Regions from separate parts of the Homo sapiens genome. Here regions 2 and 3 are each linked to region 1. The links are contacts of gene promoters, found by promoter capture Hi-C in blood cells and fetal thymus (Javierre and others, 2016). All regions are on one chromosome and are shown on one strand. Each heading gives the region's core, a stretch centred on a gene start or on the middle of the fragment in contact. The rest is flanking DNA. Distances are from core to core; before and after follow the strand shown.

The links. Contacts are between HindIII fragments. The CHiCAGO score rates a contact against its expected background, and 5 or more counts as called.
Region 2: a contact is called between a fragment that was not itself captured here and the fragment with the promoter of ELMOD2 in region 1, in 1 of 17 cell types (fetal thymus). The highest score is 6.8, in fetal thymus.
Region 3: a fragment that was not itself captured here is called in contact with the fragment with the promoter of ELMOD2 in region 1 in 1 of 17 cell types (naive CD8 T cells); the score reaches 5.9 in naive CD8 T cells.

Annotation. Positions count from the first base shown.
Region 1 is chr4:140,522,797-140,525,588 of GRCh38, forward strand. ELMOD2 (ELMO domain containing 2) reads left to right here and starts at 1,372. Exons shown (of 9, transcript NM_153702.4): 1 at 1,372-1,484; 2 at 2,624-2,774. The coding sequence starts at 2,633. RefSeq lists silencers at 1,074-1,423, 1,614-1,733. The HindIII fragment of the contact is 7,186 bases long and covers 1-2,594 here.
Region 2 is chr4:139,077,830-139,080,621 of GRCh38, forward strand. All of the region lies in intron 4 of ELF2 (E74 like ETS transcription factor 2), which reads right to left. Among named protein-coding and RNA genes, the nearest start is that of NOCT, 63 kb to the left of the region's middle. The HindIII fragment of the contact is 4,123 bases long and covers 1-2,792 here.
Region 3 is chr4:139,297,244-139,300,035 of GRCh38, forward strand. NDUFC1 (NADH:ubiquinone oxidoreductase subunit C1) reads right to left here. Exons shown (of 6, transcript NM_001184989.2): 2 at 142-200. Among named protein-coding and RNA genes, the nearest start is that of NAA15, 2.9 kb to the right of the region's middle. The HindIII fragment of the contact is 2,924 bases long and covers 1-2,792 here.

The DNA.
Region 1 (2,792 bases), core at 122-2,621:
CATTAGATGATAGTTATAAGTTCTCTTTAAGATTTAAGATTCTGTGATTTTACTATTGTAGTGTCTATCCAGACTTCATTACCAAGTTCATTGTTGGTATGGGACAGGGATGACGGCTTATGCACCCTGCACATGGCTAGTGTTCTACAATTAGTCCATTTTTTAAACGCTGGTTGAGATGTGGGAAAGTATGTATCACTTGCTTCAATTCAAGGAGTTGGAAGGAATATACATATATACACTTGCATATAATATTTTTGGAATTAGAAACAAGAAAGTAATACTGGTTGCTTCTGAGCAAGGTGACGGAGGTATCAGGAGTTTTGGGTGGATGGGGAAATTTGTTTTCAGTATCAGTTGTCCTTTGTATTTATATTCTACTCTCCCCCTTGCTCTTTCTCCTCCAGCCACCCCGGCCTTCTTGCTCTTCCTCCAACATTTCAAAAACCCTCCCAATTCAAGGTCTTTGCACTTGTCATTCTGGTGCCTGGATCACTCTCCCTCCAGATACTCCCACAGTAAACTCCCTTACTTCGTTCAATGAGGCCAAAATGCCACGTTAATAATGAGACTTCCTTGACCACACTGTATGCAATGACTTCCCCCACAGACTCCCCATTACCCCTTAGCTAACAACCCCTATACCCTTAACATTTAGTAGCATCTGACATATTAAATATTTGGCTGTTTGTTTCGTGTTTGACTGCCTTTTGGAACACTGCCTGTGCTAACAATCAACAAATACTTGTTGAATTAAGAAACTTACTGCTTGAGGTTTTTAAAAAGTAATCACGAAATTACTTTTTCAACAAAAACAACCAGTTAGGGAATAAACATTTGATAAATTAACTTTTAGACCTATAGTATTATAGGATAAAGTCCAAACTTCGTTTCTCAACACATGGACTTTCCTCATCTGCCACGTATTGGCCACAGTCAAGTAGCCGGTTCCCTTTTCTCGTGCATAAAGTGGAGTTATTCATAATTACTTCACAGAATTAAGATTCAATGCAGATGAAAGCGCTTTTGTAACTAAGGCACTATAAGTTACCGTAAGCACAGGGTTTCTTCCGCGCTTGGAGCCTAGGAATAGTACAAGGTGTCAACCCGCGCTAAGGACCTGAGGTTCAAGGAGGGAAAAGTCTCCAGCGCAGCGCTAGGAGGCGCTACTCCGGCGCGGGGCGGGGCTCCTGGCCGCCGTTGCCAGGGAAACCGTCTGGGCGTCCCTAGTATCTGAGCCCTCGCGCCTGGGCCACTCAGCTCGACCTCTCTCCAGCGTTAGCAATAGGTGGAGCGCGGGCCAATCGGAAGAGGCCGGAGGGGCGGGGCGGGCAGTGGCCCTGGGAAGGCGGGTCCGCGGCCTCGCTCCCTGACTTCCGGGTCGCGGTGCTTGAAGGGAGTGTTCCGTCGTTTCCGTTGCCGGCTGTTTGCAGTGGGGAAACCGAGGCAGCTCCTGCTCCCCCTAGTTCTTCCGCTCCTGTGAGGTGGCTGCTGTTTCTTTTCCTCTTGCCCCGGATGCCTCGGTGCGGCTGCACTGAGAGCGCGCGGGCTCGCGAGCCCCGCGGGGTTCTGCGGGAACCCGGGGGCGCCTGGGCCGGCGGGTCTTTGTGCGAGCCCTGCCCTCCCATTCGCGGGCGGCGCGCGAGGGGGGTCGGCGCAGAGACGCCCAGAGCCCTGGGGTGCTCAGGCGCCGCTACGCGTGCATCCCCTCTGCTCGGCAGTTCTGCGCTTTTGTCCTAATGAGCGCGGACTAGATGGCTTGATTTTCAAGATAATGATCAACCCAGCTGTGCTATGCGCTCTTTCTGCACTGACCTGCGGGTACTTCGAACTTCGACAGTCCCTCCTCAGGCCCTAGTCCAGAGGTGACGTGTCTGTGGGAATGTTTAAGGCAGGAAGGAGACGAGCAATTTTGTTTTTAAGTATCTCCCTCTCACTAGTATCTCCCTGACTTTTTCATTTAGAAGCTGAAGAATTTTCTTATGGCATAAGATATAGTTGTATCGAGTGTGTACTTAGCAAAACAAAAACTTGTTAGTATTTCTGCCCTTGACCTATTGAATGGAAAATCAAGAATGAGCTAAGGTGTTATATACTCAGTGTTCAACTTGTATACTTAAGTTTGTAGTGTTTTTATTTGCTGGCATCACCTGACTGGGACAGTTGTAACGAATTATCCACATGGGATAAGAAGAGTGTATTCTATAAAAACAACTCTGATGTTTTGGTATATATTTTAATTGTTGATTAGTTGGAGTCCTCTTGATCTTGAACTGTTGAGCCCCAGTTCTCAAAGAATGGGAAGTTAGGAAACTAAGATATGAAATACAATTATTTAGCAAAAAGTGCAAACCATTCTGTTACTCTTTCAAGCCATTGAATAGTTTGAGTACATTGTTTGAATTTTAGTTTTGAAAAAGTGATTAATTGGCCATTTGATCATCAATTAATAGCGGTATATATTACACCTGCCATTGTTTTTAAATGCCTAATTAAACTGTCAAAACAGACACAATGAAATGATAGATACATAATTTGAGATTTGATCAGTTGTATAAACTTTTTAAATTTTAAAATTCAGTTTAAGGTCATTAAGCTTGTCTTGTATGTTTCCCTCCTCCAGGAAAAAAAAATGTTTATTTCTTTGTGGGAGTTCTTCTATGGGCACTTTTTTCGATTTTGGATGAAATGGCTATTACGACAGATGACTGGGAAGTGTGAATTGCAGCGAATATTTGATACCTATGTAGGTGCACAAAGGACACACAGGATAGGTAATGTTATTCAAAAAG
Region 2 (2,792 bases), core at 99-2,598, 1.4 Mb before region 1:
TCTTTCTACATCTATGAAATTTATAGAAGGAAAAATAAATAACTCATTTTAAAAATAGAAACAATGAAGCTAAAAGTAGTCTGACAGGTATCATTTTCTAGTTACCACTGGTAGTGGCTATTGCTGGTCAATCCCCCTTGAAATAAATTTCAAGAACTGTTTTACTTTTTATTACAGTACCAAAAATAATATTTGCTTGTACCTTCATTTAATATTGGTAAATATCTTCTTGTTCCATTTCTATCTTTCTAATCAACCGGTGTTTGTATGGTACTGAAGACTATTCCAGACTCACTCAACAGCTGTTACAAAATACCAAACTTGGTAATTAAGTCTGACAAGAGGCATACCTCTCAGCTTTGCATAAAAGAATGCTGGCAATGGATCTAGTTCATAAAAATGTTCTCAAGTCAAAAATAAAATTTAGTAGCAATTTAGTTTGAGAGCAGTGAAAAAAAATTAGAAAACACTTCATTAGGTGATAGTGGTATTCTCCTATAAGCAACACTATAAACTAATAGTACAAGGTCTTCAGTCAACTGCAGCACCCGATTTACCACTACTTATCCTCTAATGCCCCAAAGCTATACCAGTAATAGGTAAATGAAGAATACAAATGAAGGCAATAAAAAGGGGGAAAAGGTAATTAAAGGTCTGGAATACTCCATCTTCACCTTTTCCCCCTTGACCTTTTAATCAATATACTTGCATTATAAAGTATAAAAAGGAAAAAGAATGGCAATTCTTTTTTTTTTTTTTTTACACTCTCGGAGGGGGAGAGCGAACTGCCCTCTGCAAGATGAGATCAGCCAGAAATTAAGTTTAAATTAATTAAAATTAAAAATTGAGTTTCTTAGCTACATTTTAAGTACTCAGATACATGCGGCTAGTGGCTACCATACAGTACAGACCTAAACAACACTGTAATTCAGCTATCCTCCGACCTTTTTTATCTGAGGACACTTTTACACTCAAAATACTGAAGACCTCGAGATTTTATCTGTATTTATCATATTTGAAATTACAAAGAAAACTTCAAAATTATTAATTCATTTAAAATAATACACCCATTACTGCAACCATAAATAACATTTTTTATGAAAAATAACTGTTTTTTGAGACAAGGTCTCGCTTTGTTGCTCAGGTTGGAATGCAGTGGCATGATCATGGTTCACTGTAGCTTAGATCTCCTGGGGTGTGATCCTCCTACCTCAGCGTCTCAAGTAGATGAGACCACAGGCACGCATCAGCACACCCAGCTAATTTTTTGATTTTTTTTTTTAGAGACGAGGGTCTCACTATGTTGTCCAGGCTGGTCTCAAACTCCCAGACTCAAGAGATCCTCCTGCCTTGGCCTCCCAAAGTGCTGGGATTACAGGCATAAATCACCATGCCTGGCCAAAAATAACTTAAAATAAAAAACAAAAAGTAAGTAGCTTTGTTTTTTACATTTTTGCAAATCTTATTATACTTGATTCAATAGAAGGCAGCTGAATTCTCCTTCCTCTTTCAATCTATTGGAATAACCCATCTATACATAGCTCCTAACTCCTCTGTACACTTTTGAAAGTGACAAGGCAAATAATGTCCCAGTATTATTTTCAAAACAGTTTTGTCTTTACAGATCCTGTGAAAGGCTCTTGGGACTCCCAGAATCCGGGTCAGAGAGTTTGGTTTTTGAGAAGCGCAGCTGTAATTCATCAACTGTAATTAATAACAACCAAATTCTATCCCCATGCTTATATAAGTTTTAGCTTCTAAACATAAACATCAGGGTGTAGATGACAAATTATGATTCTAGCCTAGGAGCTGTGGCTCACACCTATAATCTCAGCACTTTGGGAGGCCAAGGCAGGTGGATCACCTGAGGTCAGGATTTCAAGACCAGCCTGGCCAACATGGTAAAACCCCATTTCTACTAAAAATACAAAAATTAGCCAGGAGTGGTGGCTCACGCCTGTAATCCCAGCTACTTGGGAGGCTGAAGTGGGAGAATCACTTGAACCTGGGAGGCAGAAGTGAGCCAAGATTGTGCCACTGCACTCCAGGCTGGGCGACAGAGGGAGACTCCATCTCAAAAAATAAAATAAATGTAAAAAAAATAAAAATTATGATTCTGTAAGTAAAACAGTATTTGTCTACTCACAGATAAATGGTTTTTAAAAAGCTCTTCTTAAGCATTTCTTTGCATCCTTTTGAACATTTTGCTATAGATGACACAAGGAATCATTTTAAACAATTATCAAACATGAGGAATTATTTTAAATAGTTATCAAGAACATTCTGCTGCCTGCCCTTCTCCACCAACCAAATTTGTTTCTAAAATAGTTTTATGTTGAATGATTCTGATTGGCTATTTACACACTGACTGATGTGACCATGTAACTCAGTTTTTACATGAATTTTAGTACCAATGCTGCAATGAATTGTGAAGGGTAATTTCTTAAATTCATTTTCAAATGAGCTTTTTAAAAAGAAAACTAGTGTCATTCCTTGAGTTTCATTTTAATGTATCTATTCACATACTGCTTTTAACTTCTTTTCATACTGCTAATTTTTTTTCAATTTGATCTTTTCAAGATTGAGACTACATATTCCAATTTATAGTAAATCAGAAATGAGATTTTCAATTTCATAATGAACTTTAATAAAATAGATTTGTTTTCTGTCAGTGAAAATATTTAGGCTAAATTTCCAGAAAAATTTCACCTTCATTTAATAACTGCATTGTTGACCAAAACTTCTGATTACCTTATTTCGCAAATGTAAAAATAAAATAAAATAAGAAAAGA
Region 3 (2,792 bases), core at 159-2,658, 1.2 Mb before region 1:
TCAGAACCAGTAAGCAAATTACTAATTTCAGTACTGCTATTGAGAAAGACTGCTTTGTTCTTTTTCAGAGCTTTGGCCCTTGTATCCTTTTACTAGTGTGTATTTTGGGAAAGTGATGAAGTATAAGCACATTTTTCTCACCATATTAGAGCTGATGGGAACTGTACACTTGGAGTACCCAGCTGTATGTGAAACTGCATCTAGAAAAGAATCCTGATTAAGTAATTCCAGCTAGGAACTAATATCTATAATATTTTGTTAGAAGTTGCTTCATAACATTCATGTAAGCATCTTCAGAATTTGAACACTAAAATCTTATTTATGATCCAGGTGAAAAGAGAGAGGATTTGAGTTAGCAGCTAGAAAAGCAAAGTTTCAGTCCAAGATTTTTCCACTGGGAAAAAATCACATCTCCCAAGGAAGGTAAAAAAAGAGCAAGAATTGAAAAACAGTATAAAATGCAAAAAACAAAACAAAAAATCCCTATTTTTATTGATACAGCATGCATGAGAATACTATGAATCAAACTTAGGACTTGGGCCAGTCACAGTGGCTCAGGCCTCTAATCCTAGCACTTTGTGAGAACAAGGTAAATGGATTGCCTGAGTCCAGGAGGTCAAGACTGGCCTGTGCAACATAGGTAGATAACTATCTCTACAAAATGATTTTTTAAAAAATTAGCTGGGTGTGGTGGTGCATGTCTGTGGTTCCAGCTACTCGGGAGGCTGAGGTTGGAAGATCGCTTGGACCTGGGAGGTGAGGCTACAGTAAGCCAAGACTCTGCCACTGTACTCCAGCCTCGGTGACACAGTGAGACCCTGTCACAAAAACAAAACAAAAGAAAAAAACCAACAACCTCCCACCTCCCCACACACCAAGATGTATCTATAAGTTTTTATTTTTTAAGACTCAGCAGCTGGGCGCCCTGGCTCACGCCTGTAATCCCAGCACTTTGGGAGGCCGAGGCGGGCGGATCACCTGAGGTCGGGAGTTCAAGACCAGCCTGACCAACATGGAGAAACCCTGTCTCTACTAAAAATACAAAATTAGCCGGGCATGGTGGTGCATGCCTGTAATTCCAGCTACTCGGGAGGCTGAGGCAGGAAAATCGCTTGAACCCAGGAGGCAGAGTTGCGGTGAGCTGAGATCGCACCATTGCACTCTAGCCTGGGCGACAAGAGCGAAACTCTGTCTCAAAAAAAAAAAAAAAAAAAAAGATTCAGCAGCAGGCCGGGCGTTGGGGCTCACATCTATAATCCCAGCACTTTGGGAGGCTGCGGTGGGTGGATTGCTTAAGCCCAGGAGTTCAAGAGTAGCCTGGGCAACATTGAGAAATCCTGTCTATACACACACACAAAAAAAACCCAGAAGCAATAGCAAATTGTTAACATTTGTTAAATCTAGGTGACAAATACATGAATTTCTTTTATATTCTTTTTTTTTTTTTGGAACAAGGTCTCAGCTCTGTTGCCCAGGCCGGAGAGCAGAGGTGTCATCACAGCTCACTGCAGTCTCGACCTCTGGGGCCGAAGGAATCTTCCCACCCAAGCCCACAAAGTAGCTGGGACTACAGGCTCACAGCACCACACCTGGCAAATTTTAAAATTTTTTTGTAGAGACAGGGTCTCACTATGTTGCCCAGGTTGGTCTCAAACTTCTGGGCTCAAGCGATCTTCCTGCCTCAGCCTCCCAGTGTCGGGATTATAGGTATGAGGCATTATGCCTGGCCTATGTTTTTTTTTTTGAGATGTAGTCTCACTCTGTTGTCCAGGCTGGAGTGCAGTGGTGCGATCTTGGCTCACTGCAACCTCCACCTCCCAGGTTCAAGCGATTGTCTTGCCTCAGCCTCCTGGATAGCTGGGGTTACAGGCACGCACCACCACACCCGGCTAATTTTTGTATTTTTAGTAGAGACGGGGTTTCACCATGTTGGTCAGGCTGGTCTTGAACTCCTGACCTTGTGATCCGCCCGCCTCAGCCTCCCAAAGTGCTGGGATTACAGGTGTGAGCCACCAAGCCCAGCCTTTTTTTTTTTTTTAAATAAGATCCAAGTACTTAATAAGATGTAACAGTCTCAATAGAGAACATCTTACATATATGGAGAAATTTCACTCAACATATCCCTTTTGTAGAATTAAAGTTTGCAAGGTAAATGATTTTATTTCTTTCTTTTTGGTTAATATTTTTTAGAGTTAGCATTTGGAACATAGTGACATGCAAGCACATGGGGTAAGATGAATTAACTATCATCAGCAGCAGCAGCGGCAGCATATAGCCTTGGATATGTTAACTTTCTGAAAGCATGGCTGTTACTTACAGTATAACTCAAATGGGATCTCTATTTGTGAAATTGTGGTGATCAGAGTAAATATATATTTTTTTATTCAATTCAGGCTACTGTGTGGTCAGACTGTTATCTGTAGGTGCATTTTAACTAGCAAATGAATCAGTTAAATGTTGAATCAGACTAGTATTTGCCGAGCCTTTAAAATTGCCATTTCTTTGTCATCACCCAAAAAGAATGTAACATTTGCCAAACTCTATTTCTGGCTCATCTAATCAGGTACTCAGGTTCTGGTGGAAGCTACTGATTGTTTCAAAGACCAGAAATTTTCTTCCTCTGAAGGAAAATAGAATATTCTTTACAGGAGAAATTTAGAGAACTATAGCAAATAGTATTGCTGTAGGGATTTTTGGATATGAAGCCAGAAATTTGGATATGAAGCCAGAGATTTGGAAATCCAAGCTAAAACTATCAACTGCATTTAGACTATTTTTTCTGTCTTTCAATA